Linked DNA regions of Homo sapiens: region 2 is linked to region 1. Evidence: promoter capture Hi-C in human tissues and cell types (Jung and others, 2019). All regions are on one chromosome and are shown on one strand. Each heading gives the region's core, a stretch centred on a gene start or on the middle of the fragment in contact. The rest is flanking DNA. Distances are from core to core; before and after follow the strand shown. Region 1 holds the start of ADH1B (alcohol dehydrogenase 1B (class I), beta polypeptide). Region 2 has its middle 16 kb from the start of ADH1C.

What was found. The method cuts DNA at HindIII sites, captures the fragments that hold promoters and counts their contacts. A contact is called where the count stands out against the background at its distance.
Region 2: a contact is called between a fragment that was not itself captured here and the fragment with the promoter of ADH1B in region 1, in 2 of the 25 tissues and cell types used here (bladder and ovary).

What each region holds. Positions count from the first base shown.
Region 1 is chr4:99,319,015-99,325,616 of GRCh38, reverse strand. It overlaps ADH1B (alcohol dehydrogenase 1B (class I), beta polypeptide), which reads left to right and starts at 4,216. Exons shown (of 9, transcript NM_000668.6): 1 at 4,216-4,303. The coding sequence starts at 4,286. RefSeq lists an enhancer at 3,944-4,050 and a promoter at 3,944-4,250. The HindIII fragment of the contact is 12,641 bases long and covers 823-6,602 here.
Region 2 is chr4:99,365,621-99,372,222 of GRCh38, reverse strand. No RefSeq gene overlaps it. Among named protein-coding and RNA genes, the nearest start is that of ADH1C, 16 kb to the right of the region's middle. The HindIII fragment of the contact is 8,873 bases long and covers 1-6,602 here.

The sequences.
Region 1 (6,602 bases), core at 2,967-5,466:
TTAGCAAAGTCAGCACTCCATGGATGTTACATACTGATACTAATCAGTTGTAATTTTTACAACAAAATATATTTTTAATTTTCAAAAGGAAAAAATTCTCCACCATTAAAGAACTCTTTAGCTTTTAGATATTTTTATATTGTGACAACCATACCATTTGTATTACTTTGTATTGTTTTAATAAACACTTGGTATTCCCACATCATCTCAGTAAATGTACTTTTAAGCATATGCCAAGCACATCATCAGAATAACTTAAAATGCATCAATAACTCATTTAAAATACATCAGTAAATCATTCGTGGAGCATTCAGATCGTTTGCAGTTTGGCTATCACAGAGAAGGCTGGATGGAACATCTCTGTTTTTGGATTGGGCTTCTTAGATTATTTCCCAACTGCCTTCACAGGAGGAATGTAAACAAACATTTTGTTCTCTCACACACGCTCTTCATGGAAGAATTCCAGGCTCCACAGCCACAGCCAGTCCAGCAAGCATTTCAGTTCCCTCAACATCTTTGGCTTCAGTACCAAAATCAAAATGAAATGCTAATTGAGTAAGAATTCATGGTTTTGAATGTGGGTATTTTCAAAAATTCCTCTAGGAACTTAAAATTTACTCTACTTATTGTAATATTCTATAGATTATTTATGTAACTATTCCATTCTCAAGTTCTATTTATTGCTACTAAAGTCCCTCTCCCACTCTTCATTTTGCATCTCATCCCCAAAAATGCTTTAAAGTCTGTTATTTATGCACATACTTGAAATGTTACAATTTTTTTCTAGCAATCATCTTTACAATAATATTAATCTTACCATTTTGCCAAATGATTTAACCCCAAAAATGAAGAATTTGTACTGAAGGTACTTTCTGCCAGTTACAATATTATTTCTTAGATCCAGGTAAATTATTGGCCCATGGGGAAAAGGAGACAGTTGGATCTCTTACAGAGATGCTAGTCTGTCCTTCTCGAGGCTTTGGAGTCACATCTCTGCACTACTCATCATTACATGCATAATTATATTAGAGATGCCAGTCCTTGCCTTCCACTAACCTTCCAAGAGAGCTTGTGGTAATTTGTTACATCAGCAATAGAAAATTAACACACCCTTCTTGCAAACATGGCCATCTACAGGCTGTGGGTAGACACATCTCCCTCTTTGACCACAACCTGGAAAAGCTCTCCAATTTTAAGAAGCCATAAGATTAGATTAGGTTCACCTGGATAATCCAAGCTAGTCTTCCCATCTCAAGACCTTTAACGGAATCACACCTACAAAATTCGTTTTTTTCCATGTAAAGCAATATATTCCTAGATTCCAGGGATTAGGAGTGGACCTCTTTGAGGGCCATTATTCTGCCTAGCACACCGGGGATCGCTGACCCAAACTGAAGCAAGCATATCATCTCTCTGGATAAGCTGCATTTATAATATAGTAGTTGGTGGAAATGTAATATAGAATCGGGCTGGCTTACAGAGACACACACAGAGAGAGAAACAGAGGAAAGTGATGCCCTGTGACCCCTAGAGAGTGACAGGGTTACCTTTGGACATTCCAGATGTTGCTACAGGCCTGCCATGGCCCTCTGATACTAGAACACTGACACTCAATCATGTGACAACTGCTCTTCCCCTCCATTTAAACTTTTAGAAGGTGGGGCAAAGAGTAAGCACAGAGTAGTTGCCAGATGGTATTAAGAAAGATCTCTTGACTCTATGAAGTTTGTGCCAAAGTTCTTTTGGCAGTTCATGGAGCCATGTGTTCACAAAGTGATGCAAGCTCATAAGTGGATATCACATTTCCAAATTCATTAGGGCCTTGAAAACAAGGTGGTAGTGGCTATAATTCCCTGAAATGCTATGTCTACAGGTGTGAGAGAGGATTAAACAGAAAAATGTATAAAAGGGGGTATTAGGGGAGAAAAATGTTTTCAAGATTCTTTGTCCATATGCTGACTGCATCTATACCTCTCAACTGCAACTCATCTTTCTTAATAAATCTTAATAAAATATCTTTCTTTCAAGGCTTCCTCATTCTCAAATTAGATGTCATTCATTTAATTTAGTCAACAAATATCTGAGCACTCACCCTGTGCCACTCATTGAGTTAAGAGCTGAGAATTCACAATGAAAAGACGGAGTAGGGTCTTCCTCTTTTGATTCCACGTTGAACTTTCTCCTGGCACTCACCACTTCCTGCTTCACAGGAGGGTTCTCTGTCTTCTCTACCTGACCACAGCCAATCCCACTGCTAATCTGTAATCCCTTAAAGAGGAGACACCAGATCTTCTGGATTATGGGACTGCTCATAGAACAGTGCGTGTCCTAACATAAAGGAGCACAAGAATTCAACAATCTTTCATTAAACACCTATTGTACACATGAAACTAGGTACAGTTGAAGATTTAAATGAAATTCAAGAACATCTCTGACCAGAAATTTCCAGTAGAACTTAGGAGACTGATCTCTACACTAAATATAAAGGCCACAAAAGAGAATGGGCCCTAAAACCACAGGAGGGATGCTAGTATGACAGGGATGGAAAGAAGTGAAGCATGACTGTGAGATGGCGTTAACATATCTCCACAAGGGCGACCTTGTCCTAGATCTCAAAGTTTGGGGAGGATTTGAATGGGCCAGAGGGACAGAAAAGAAGAGAAAAAGCATGATGAGCAAGAGCTTGAATGAGGAATGGATTCCTCTTTGGAGGACCACAGAGATACATGCTTCTAAAGAGCATAGGCCCTGTATTGGAGAATGGTGAGGAATAGTTGGATGAGAAGGCTAAAGCCAGGTTATCTGGGGCTATCTTCTTTCCGTCATACCTTTCCAAACTAGAAGCAACTAAAATCATAGGACCTCCTTTGCTTTCTATTGGGTGAATGTTTCTCAGTCTTGGTGTGAGTCTCAGTGCCTACATAATTAAAGCTTACTGAAATGTTCCCTTGGCAATTTTAGAGAAATATGTCCTCTATGCTAACATGTTCATATTGACAGACTATATCTAATTAAATAGTTGCCTGTATAGTTTTATGACGCCTCCAAGTGTGGATAAAAGAAAAATCAAACTCCTATGCTTGGAAAGCCATGAGGATACTAGCTACATTGATCAAAGGGTAATGGAAATGATCCAGTGAGGATTTTGCTCCATTTCTCACAATTATTTAAAATCTGCCACAAATGCCTGTTCCTCTACAATGCCTCCCCTGAGTCCTTCATTCTGAATAGCAACTCTGTCTCTGTTCCCAAAGCATTAACTGACCCCTGTGATAGGGCACTTCCCAGCCAGGCTGATATGTAGACTTGGTTTCCTGCGTGTCTTTTCACTATAAACTGTGAGCTTTCTTTCATGAATAATAATTGTAGCTAACATTTAGGAGGGTGCTCCTATCTGCAAAACTCCATGATGAGTGCTTTACAAGGATTATTTCATTTATTCACAAACAGTCCTTTAAAATGACGCCATTATTCATCTTCATCTCACAGATAAGGAAATTAAGGCAAAAAAAATTCAGTGAAATAATAAGTCCAAGTACACAGAACAAGTAAGGAACTGGGTTGGCCTGGTCCCACAAGCCATGCCATCACCGCTGCCCCATACTGCCTCTTGGCACAGGCAGAGGTCATGTCTTATTCATCACTGCTACTCCACTGGACCCAGCTTAGTGCCTGACACAGGGAGGTGTTCAGTCCATACATACTAGTTTTGAGTGGAGCAGAATTGCCAGGCACAGTGATCCCCTTTGCTGTGACTAATTGGGTGTCTGATTCTCTGCTGTAAAGACAAAGAGGCTGCTCTCTCTATCCTACTTCGTTTTTCCTGTTTTCTTACTCTTCTTCCTTCCTCGCCACCCCATGTGCATTCAAAGTTGCAGCTTAGTGCAGACAAAGGGAATACAAGGCAGAACGACCTATGTGGGATTGAAAGAAGAGAAACAAGGAATTCCAGAGGCCGGGGGGGGGTGGGAAGTGAGGAAAAGAGAAAGTGATTACAATTTATCACTTTAACTTAATATTTAAACTAATGAAAACAAAATCTTATCTAGAATTTGGAAGTCAATATTTTGATTGCTGGTTCAGTACCCTTTTATCTGTTTTGACAGTCTGGGAATAATCCAGTGGGTGTGGCTTAAAGACATAGATCACGTGTGGAATTGGAATTGGATGTTACACAAGCAAACAAAATAAATATCTGTGCAATATATCTGCTTTATGCACTCAAGCAGAGAAGAAATCCACAAAGACTCACAGTCTGCTGGTGGGCAGAGAAGACAGAAACGACATGAGCACAGCAGGAAAAGTAAGCAAAAAATATATTACTGTTGGTAATATATTCTCATCAATATAACAAAGAAAGGAATACAGTATTTGATGAATAATTTAAAATTCATATCTAAATTAGAAATGATATGCTGAAATATGATATGCAATATACACCTCAATATGTAATGTATACTGAACTGCAGTGGAAATAAGCTATTCTTAAGTACCTTTAACAGGAATGTATAGAACCTGTGTCTATTAGTCTTTATTTCCTACATTAAATAAATTTACAGTAAAATGATAGTTTATTCCAAGCTAATCATGACTGATTTGTAAATCTAAAGTTAGAAAAGTCTTTAATGGCAAGTTATCTTTATAATAAGAAACCATAATTCAAATGTGTTATTATTTTTATTCAAATTTTTTATGAACACAGGAAAGTTGTCTGACAGAAGTTTGATGAGAGGAATTTGACTCAGAAGACTGAAATATCCTTTAACCTTACTATAAAATATCTTACAAAATACTCATTGATTTCACAGCATTAGAATCATCAAGGTTAAGCAAGACATCAACATGCAAATTCTGATTAAAAGGGGTCCATTATGATACAATTCAGGGAATTTCCACAAAAATCCTATGGAACAGTATCTTCCCCATTTAAAAGTTAATATGGTTTTACAGAAAATCAATGATACAATTTGAATAATAATACAATTTGAATCACTTAGCACTAGGAATACAGATATTTGGTTTTTTCTTCTATAAATTTGTACTTATTTGCTCAATGTGTTTACAGGTGCATGTGGTCATTCAATATAATCAATTGATTTTTTTAATTGTTTAATTACATAAACCTGTGCAACTATGTCCAGTCCTTTTTTTGTGTTAGGAGTGTACCACACTGTAAAATATCTCACTATGATAATTCAATTTAAAGGTTCTGAGGCTTCTCTCTGCATTGTGTGACAAACAGGCTCATATCAATAAGACTGGTTGATGGAGCTAGAGGACGTTATTCTAAGTAAAGTAACTCATGAATGGAACACCAAATATCCAATGTTCTCACTTAAAAGTGGTAGCTAAACTATGAGGACACAAAGGATGAGAATGATATAATGGACTTTGGGGACTGAGGGAAAAGGGCAGTAGGAGGAATAAGACATAAAAGACTACATATTGGGTTCAGTCTACACTGCTTGTGTGAGGGGTGCACCAAAATATCAGAAATCACCACTAAAGAACTTATCCGTGTAACCAAAAACCATCTGCACCCCAAAAACTATTGAAATTAAAAATTAATCAATGAATAAATTTTAAGATAAAAATAATGCATGTAATTTACCCAGCACAGGTCACAATGTGCCTGTCACATCATAAGCACCTCATAATAAGAATCTTCCTACTATTAGTACCTTCTGTCTAAGTATTCTGGTATTTATTTTGGCATTGACCATGTTGAACATCCTACAAAGTTGAAAATTTTGACAAATAAATAATGAAAATGAATTGGCAGAAAAATAAATCTCAATTGAATTTTTAAATTATATTTGCAATTATGTTGGTTCTTTCTAGAAAGGGCTCTGCGAATTATACATGCTTTACCACAACGAAGATGGGTTTTACAGTACACTGCCAAGCACTAGAAATATATGCTGAACTTTATTTTTAAGAACATCTATGGATAAGCTCTGCTAAACAGAAATCCAAGCACACTGTTTCTCCAGTTTTAAAATATACATGCGTGGGTCTGAGTGTATACACACACACACACGTGCACACACACACACCACCAACTCTAATCTCTATAATATTTGGCTCAAATCTAAGCTGAAAGAAGTCTCTACACATAAATTAGATTACAAAACAGGCTGCCAAAGCTAAGTTTCAAATGAGTAGGAAACAAGTAGCACACAGAAGTAGTGGAGAGAGAAAATTAAAAGAGGACAATAAGCAAATAGGGAGAGAAAGAAATGTCATTGTGCGCAGGAAGGTAAATGTATAATTGCTCTTATAGAGTCAGATCCTTTTGGCCTAAGCAGAAAATTGAGCAATAAAGCAGTGTATTTTATGTAGACAGACACTGACTCTGTCAGCAAAATAAAGGTGACTTCTAACTTCATATATCAGCTAATAGTTGTGGGTAGACGAGCATTTTCAGGACGGCATTAGGAAATACCAGGAATAAACACCTTCAGAGAAAAAACAACAACATAAGAATGGCCTAAATAAATATATTCCATTTTTCTCAATGTCTTATTATACTTTGTTTATCTTTCCTTATGTTATTGCTTTTTAAAAGATACTTTTATTCTCTTTATAAACCAGAGTACTTC
Region 2 (6,602 bases), core at 2,145-4,644, 47 kb before region 1:
TACTATTTCTACCATCCAACTGTTTTGTTTAGACCAGGTGAACATAGTGTGGCTGTGACACACAGACTGAGAGGTGTAATTCAAACTAAACATCCCCTTAGGGGACCAATCAATAATAATTCCATAGGAATCATTACACAGCACCTCTGCCTGTTCTGCAATGCAATCTTCCCAAACAGGTACGTTCATTAATTCTGGCCAGGTCCAATTCTGTTTACAAATAAGTTTTTGAGGGCAGTATGCCTCAATTATAGGAGCAGATTTATTACGGTAAATACTGAGATCAGAAAGCATGTGTAACTGTGTCATAGGGTGACTACATCCAGGCCATTATTGCCAGCCAAGATTGATAAATATGCCTAATAAGTATAATTGTTCTCTGTGTCAGCCCTTGTTGAAGGAATACTCATGGCAATGGTGATCACTGCTATCATAGCTATCACTAAATTACTCATTGTGACTGGTTGTCCCATTTTCCATGGTTTTCTTCTGCCATCTGTGACAGCTTCTTGATCTGTCTCCAGGTAGATGGCTGTGTTCCACGGGTGTTGCTTGTGACAGTTGGGGTCCTCCTCAGCATCAGTCTCAATGTGGCTGCAACCAAGGGGTCCTTGCGGTCCTCCCAGAATCTCTTCCTCAGCATCTGGCTCATGATAAGGCTTCAGGTGTACTGATGGTAACCAAATCGGCTGCTGGTTCTGGCCTGGAGAAACACAAGCATAACCTCTACCTCAAGTTATCATTTTACCTATTTCCCAACTTTTTGTTATTGGATCTCTCCACCAAACCAGTTGTTCCGCTTCTGTCTTTGCAGCTGGTTTCTGTAGATGCTGTTCAGCTGCTGATAGCATCTGGCCTTTAGGCAGGCTCAAAAAATTTAAAGTCAATAATGCTAGATTCAGTTAAATATGGGGTGTCCCATAGTCCCTGTTTCTCCCCTTTTGCTTTTACAACTGCTGTTTCAGGGAGAGATTCATTCTTTCTACTCTGGCTTGTCCTTGAGAATTATATGGGATGCCAGTAATGTGTTTAATATTCCATATAGAGAAAAATGTAGCTAGATCTTGGCTAGTATAGCCTGGGGAATTATCTGTTTTAATGGAAGCTGGAATGCCCATCTCCACAAAACACTGCAAAAGGTGGCATTTAACACAGGCAGAAGACTTTCCTGATTGGTATGTAGCCCAAAGTGAGAAAAGGTGTCCACACATACATGTACATAAGCTAGTCTCTCAAATAAGGGAACATGTGTGACATCCATCTGCCAAAGAGAATTAGGTTCCAATTCTCGAGGATTAACTCCTCCTGTAAAAGATGAGGAATGCACTATTTGGCAAGTTGGACATCACTGGATAATAGCTTTAGCTTCTTTCCAGGTAATGCTGTATCTGAGTTTGAGACCAGAGGCATTAACATGTGTTAAATTGTGAAAGTGTCTGGCATTAGATATTGCAGTAGCAACTAGGTGATCAGCCATTTGATTCACTGCAGTCAAAGGTCCTGGAAGAGGTGTATGAGCCCTAATGTGAGTGACATAAAAAGGGTGCATTCTACTCCTGACTCCTGTTTGCAATTGGGTAAATAAAGTCATCAGTTGTTCATCTGTATGAAATCATAACTCAGCATTTTCAATTAATTGTGTGGAATGAACCACATATGAAGAATCAGAAATCACATTAATAGGCATATCAAAAGCAGTCAATACCTCGATTACAGCTACAAGCTCTGCTTTTGAGCTGAAGTAGAGGGCGTCTGGAAAATTTTACCTTTTGAGCCAGAATAAGAAGCTTTACCATTACTAGACCCACCAGTAAAAACATTCTCAGCACCTTCAATTGGTTTGAATTTAGTTATTTTAGGGAGAATCCAATTAGTTAATTTCAAAAATTGAAACAGTTTCATTTTAGGAAAATGATTATTGAGAATACCCACAAAGTCAGCTAAATGGGTTTGCCAAGTAAGACTATTTATAAAGGCTTGCTGTATTTGTGCCTTCATGAGAGGGACAATATTTTTTCCAGGATCATATCCATGTAATTTAACAATCTGAGTTCACCCATTTCCTATCATAGTAGCAATTTGATCCAAATAAGGAGTCAAAGTCCCTGAATTAGTATGTGGAAGAGAAAGACACTGTACAAGATCTTGCTCTTGAACAATAACATCAGTAGGTGAATGCTGAGTTGAAAAAATTTGCAAATCTAGAGTCTTCTCTGGATCTATTCTATTGATTTGAGCTTTATGGACTTGCTTTTTGATGACTTGCAGCTCTGCCTCAGCTTCTTTTGTTAACTGCTGAGGGCTAGTGAGACTAGGATCTCCTCTAAGGATAGAAAATAGATTACTCAGGTAGGAATGCCTAGGGCAGGTCATGTCCAATTAATTTCTCCTAGTAATTTTTGAAAGTCATTTAATGTTTTCAATTGATCCCTACATATGGTTACTTTCTGTGGCACAATGGTGGTATCATTTACTAAGGTCCCCAAGAAAGAAGTAAGGAGTAGTAGTCTGAATTCTGTCAGGAGCTATAATTAAACCAGCATGAGAAATTAAGTTTTGCAAGAGATCATAACATTGGATTAATATTTCTCAAGTGATGGCAGCACAAAGTATATCATCCATATAATGAATAATGTAACACTGTGAAAATTTTTTACTAGTAGGTTCAATTGCTTGCCCTACATAAGTCTGGCAAATTGTTGGACTGTTTAACATGCCTTGTGGCAACACTTTCCAGTGAAAATGCTTAGCAGGCTGCAGGTTGTTTACTGCAGGAATTGTAAATGCAAACCATTCACAGTCTTGCCCAGCTAAGGGGATAGTAAAGAGTCTTTTAAATCTATGACTATTAAAGGCCAATTTTTCAGAATCATAGCAAAAGAAGGCAGTCCTGGATGCAATGTCCCCATAGGTTGTATAACTGAATTAATGGCTCTTAAGTCAGTTAACATTTTCCATTTACCTGATTTTTTCTTAATTACAAAAACTGGAGATTTCCAAGGGGAAAATGTTGGAGCTATGTGTCCTTTTTCTACTTGTTCAGTAACTAAGTCCTCTAAAGCCTCCAGTTTCTCTTTATTCAGCGACCATTGTTTTATCAGATAATTGGCTTATCTGTTAACCCTTTTAAAGGTATAGGTTCTGGAGGCTTAACAATGGCTGCCATCAAAAATGATATCCTAAATCTTGGCAAGAAGTTTGTCTTCCCACTTGAAGGGCTTCCTTCAAACCTTGCAAATTTTTTCCTAGTCCCATACCAGGGACATACCCCATTGCATGCATCATATGTTGACTTTGAGGGCTATATAATTGTTCTGGAATTAGAACTTGTGCTCCCCATTTTTGTAATAAATCCTTTCCCCATAGATTTATAGGTACAGAAGTCATAATTGGTTGAATAGTCCCAGGTTTTCCATCGGGCCCTTCACAATGCAAAATATAACTACTTTGATATACTTCAGGGACTTTACCAACTCCAACTATGTTAAATTGAGGGGGTTGAATTGGCCACATGGACAGCCAGTGCTGTAGAGAAATGATTGAAATGTCTGCTCCTGTATCTACCAAACCTTTACATTTCTTTCCCTGAATAGTTATTTTACAGGTAGGGTGTTTATCAGTAATTTGATTCACCCAAAGCTGCTTTGCCTTGTTTATTTGTGCTTCCAAATCCTCCTGTTCATTTAATTTCACTTTTCCCCATTTCCACATATGGCACAATCAGGAGCTGTGCTATACACTCTCCTGGCTCTGCTTTCCAGGGAACAGAAGTAGATATAAAAATTTCAATTTCCCTATTGTAATCTGAATCAATGACTCTGATATGTACTTGCACTCCTTTTAAATTTAAACTAGATCTACCTAGAAGTAATCCTATCATCCCCATTGGCAAGGGTCCACAGACCCGTGTTGGAACTTTTTGTGGGGGTCACAGGCAGAAGGCTCACAACTTTTGTGCAGCATAAATCTACTGCGGCACTACCGGCTGTGGCAGGGGACAGGAATTGTACAGGGGTGAGGGAAGGGCCTGAGCTGGAAATGCTCTGGTTTGGAACGGGGCCCAGGACTGGCCCCTCATGGCATTTCCCAAATTTAAAAGGAAAAGGCTCAAATGTAGCTATAATATTTCCCTGTTGATCTGGGGGGTGTATGCTAACAGGGAACTGCCAAGCCTGTATATCACCTTCTCATATAGCTTACTGGATTCCTGCCAGAATAGAACTGAGAGCAGTCACTTGAGGTACTGCTCAGTCACTGGGGCAAATACTTTTCACCCAGTGTCCTCCAGAAAAGAAAGATCTGGAGGGTCAGGCCACTCTTTTTCTTCAAAATAATGGGGGGGTGCCGAAGGGTAGGGATGAACCTCTTCCTCCTTTGCCACTTTAGCTTTAGCTGGCAAACAAACCTGCTCTGTCACCTCTTCTGTTACTTTGTTATACTTTCCTTCCTCCTCATCATCAGTGTGAAAAGGTTCCAAGGTGGAAAGAACCAGAGCCCACACTTGTCCCATTGTTACCCTGATGCTTCCGAGCTCCCCTTCTTACTCACCATGGGGACTGCTTAAGAGTACTCAGGTGTCCTCCAGTTTAGTTCCACATTCTCCAACCATTGCTCCAGTGACCATTCGACCTAGGTTCGAGCCCCCACATTGGGCACCGCTTGCCAAGACCAGCTCGGTCATGGAGCTAACCCAGTGGTGCTAGGGGAATTAAAGACACACACACAGAAATATAGAGGTGTGGAGTGGGAAATCAGGGGACTCACAGCCTTCAGACCCGAGAGCCCTGAACAGAGTTTGACCAACATATTTATTGACAGCAAGCCAGTGATAAGCATTATTTCTATAGATTATAGATTAACTAAAAGTATTCCTTACAGGAAACAAAGGGATGGGCTGAAACAAAGGGATGGGCTCTGGCTAGTTATCTGCAGCAGAAACATGTCCTTAAGGCACAGATCACTCGTGCTATTGTGTGTGGTTTAGGAATACCTTTAAGCAGTTTTCTGCCCTGGGTGGGCCAGGTGTTCCTTGCTCTTATTCTAGTAAACCCACAACCTTCAGCGTGGGTGTCATGGCCATCACGAACATGTCACAGTGCTGCAAAGATTTTGTTTATGGCCAGTTTGGGGACCAGTTTATGGCCAGATTTGGGGGCTTGTTCCCAACACATTACAACTGATACAACAGAAATTCAAATGATCATTATTAGGTACCATATGTTGATATACTGGAAAATATAGAAGAAATGGATAAATTTCTAGGAACATAAAACATGCCAAAATTGAACCAAGAGGAAATCCAAAACCTGAACAGGTCAATAAAAAGTAATGAGATTGAAGACATAATAAAAGATCTCCCAGTAAAGAAGAGCCTGGGACCCAACGGCTTCACTGCTAAACTCTACCAAACATTTAAAGAACTAATACTAATCCTACTCAAACTGTTCCAAAAAACAGAGGAGGAGGAAATACTTCCAAACTGATTCAATGAGGCTAGTATTACTCTAATACCAAAACAAGACAAAGGCATGTTAAAATAAATAAATAAAAACTACAAGCTAACATCTGTGATGAATATTGATGCAAAAATTGTCAACAAAATACTAGCAAGTGAAATTCAACAATATATTATAAAGATCATTCATCATGACCAAGTGGGATTTACTCCAGGAATGCAAGAATGGTTCAACATATGCAAATCAGTCAATGTGATACTTCATATCAACAGAATGAAGGACAAAAACCATATATTTCAATGGATGCTGAAAACTCTTTTGATAAAGATCTACATCTTTCAGGATTAAGAAAAAAACCTCAGAAAACTGGGTATAAAAGGAGCATACCTCAACATAATAAAAGCCATATATGACAGACCCCCAGCTAGTGTTATACTTTATGGGGAAAAACTGAAAGATTTTCCTCTTAAATCTGGAACACGACAAGGATGCCCACTTTCACCACTGTTATCCAACATAATACTGGAATTCTTAGCAAGAGCAATCAGGCAAGAGAAAGAAATAAGGAGAATCCAAATTGAAAAAGAAGTCAAATTTTCCTATTGGCAGATGATATAATCTTATATTTGGGAAAACCAAAAGACTCCCCCAAAAAACTACTCAAACTGATAAACAAATTCAGTAAACTTTTAGGACACAAAATCAATGTACAAAAATCAGTAGCATTTCTAAATATCAACAGTGAGCAATCTGAAAAGGAAATCAAAAAAGTAATTCCATTTATAGCCACCACAAATAAAATTAAATACCTAGGTATCAACCAGAGAAGTGAAAAATCTTCACAATGAAAACTATAAAATATTGATTAAAAAAATTGAAGAGGACACAAAAAATGGAAAGATATTCCATGTTCACGGATTGGAAGAATCAACATTATTAAAATGTCCATGCTACACAAAGCAATCTACAGAGTCAATGCAATCCCTGTCAAAATACCAATGACTTTCTTCACAGAAATAGAAAAAGAATCCTAAAATTTATATGGAATCACAAAATATTCAGAATAGCCAAAACTGTCCTGAGAAAAAGGAATAAAGCTGTAGGAATCACATGATCTGATTTCAAAATATACTACAAAGCTATAGT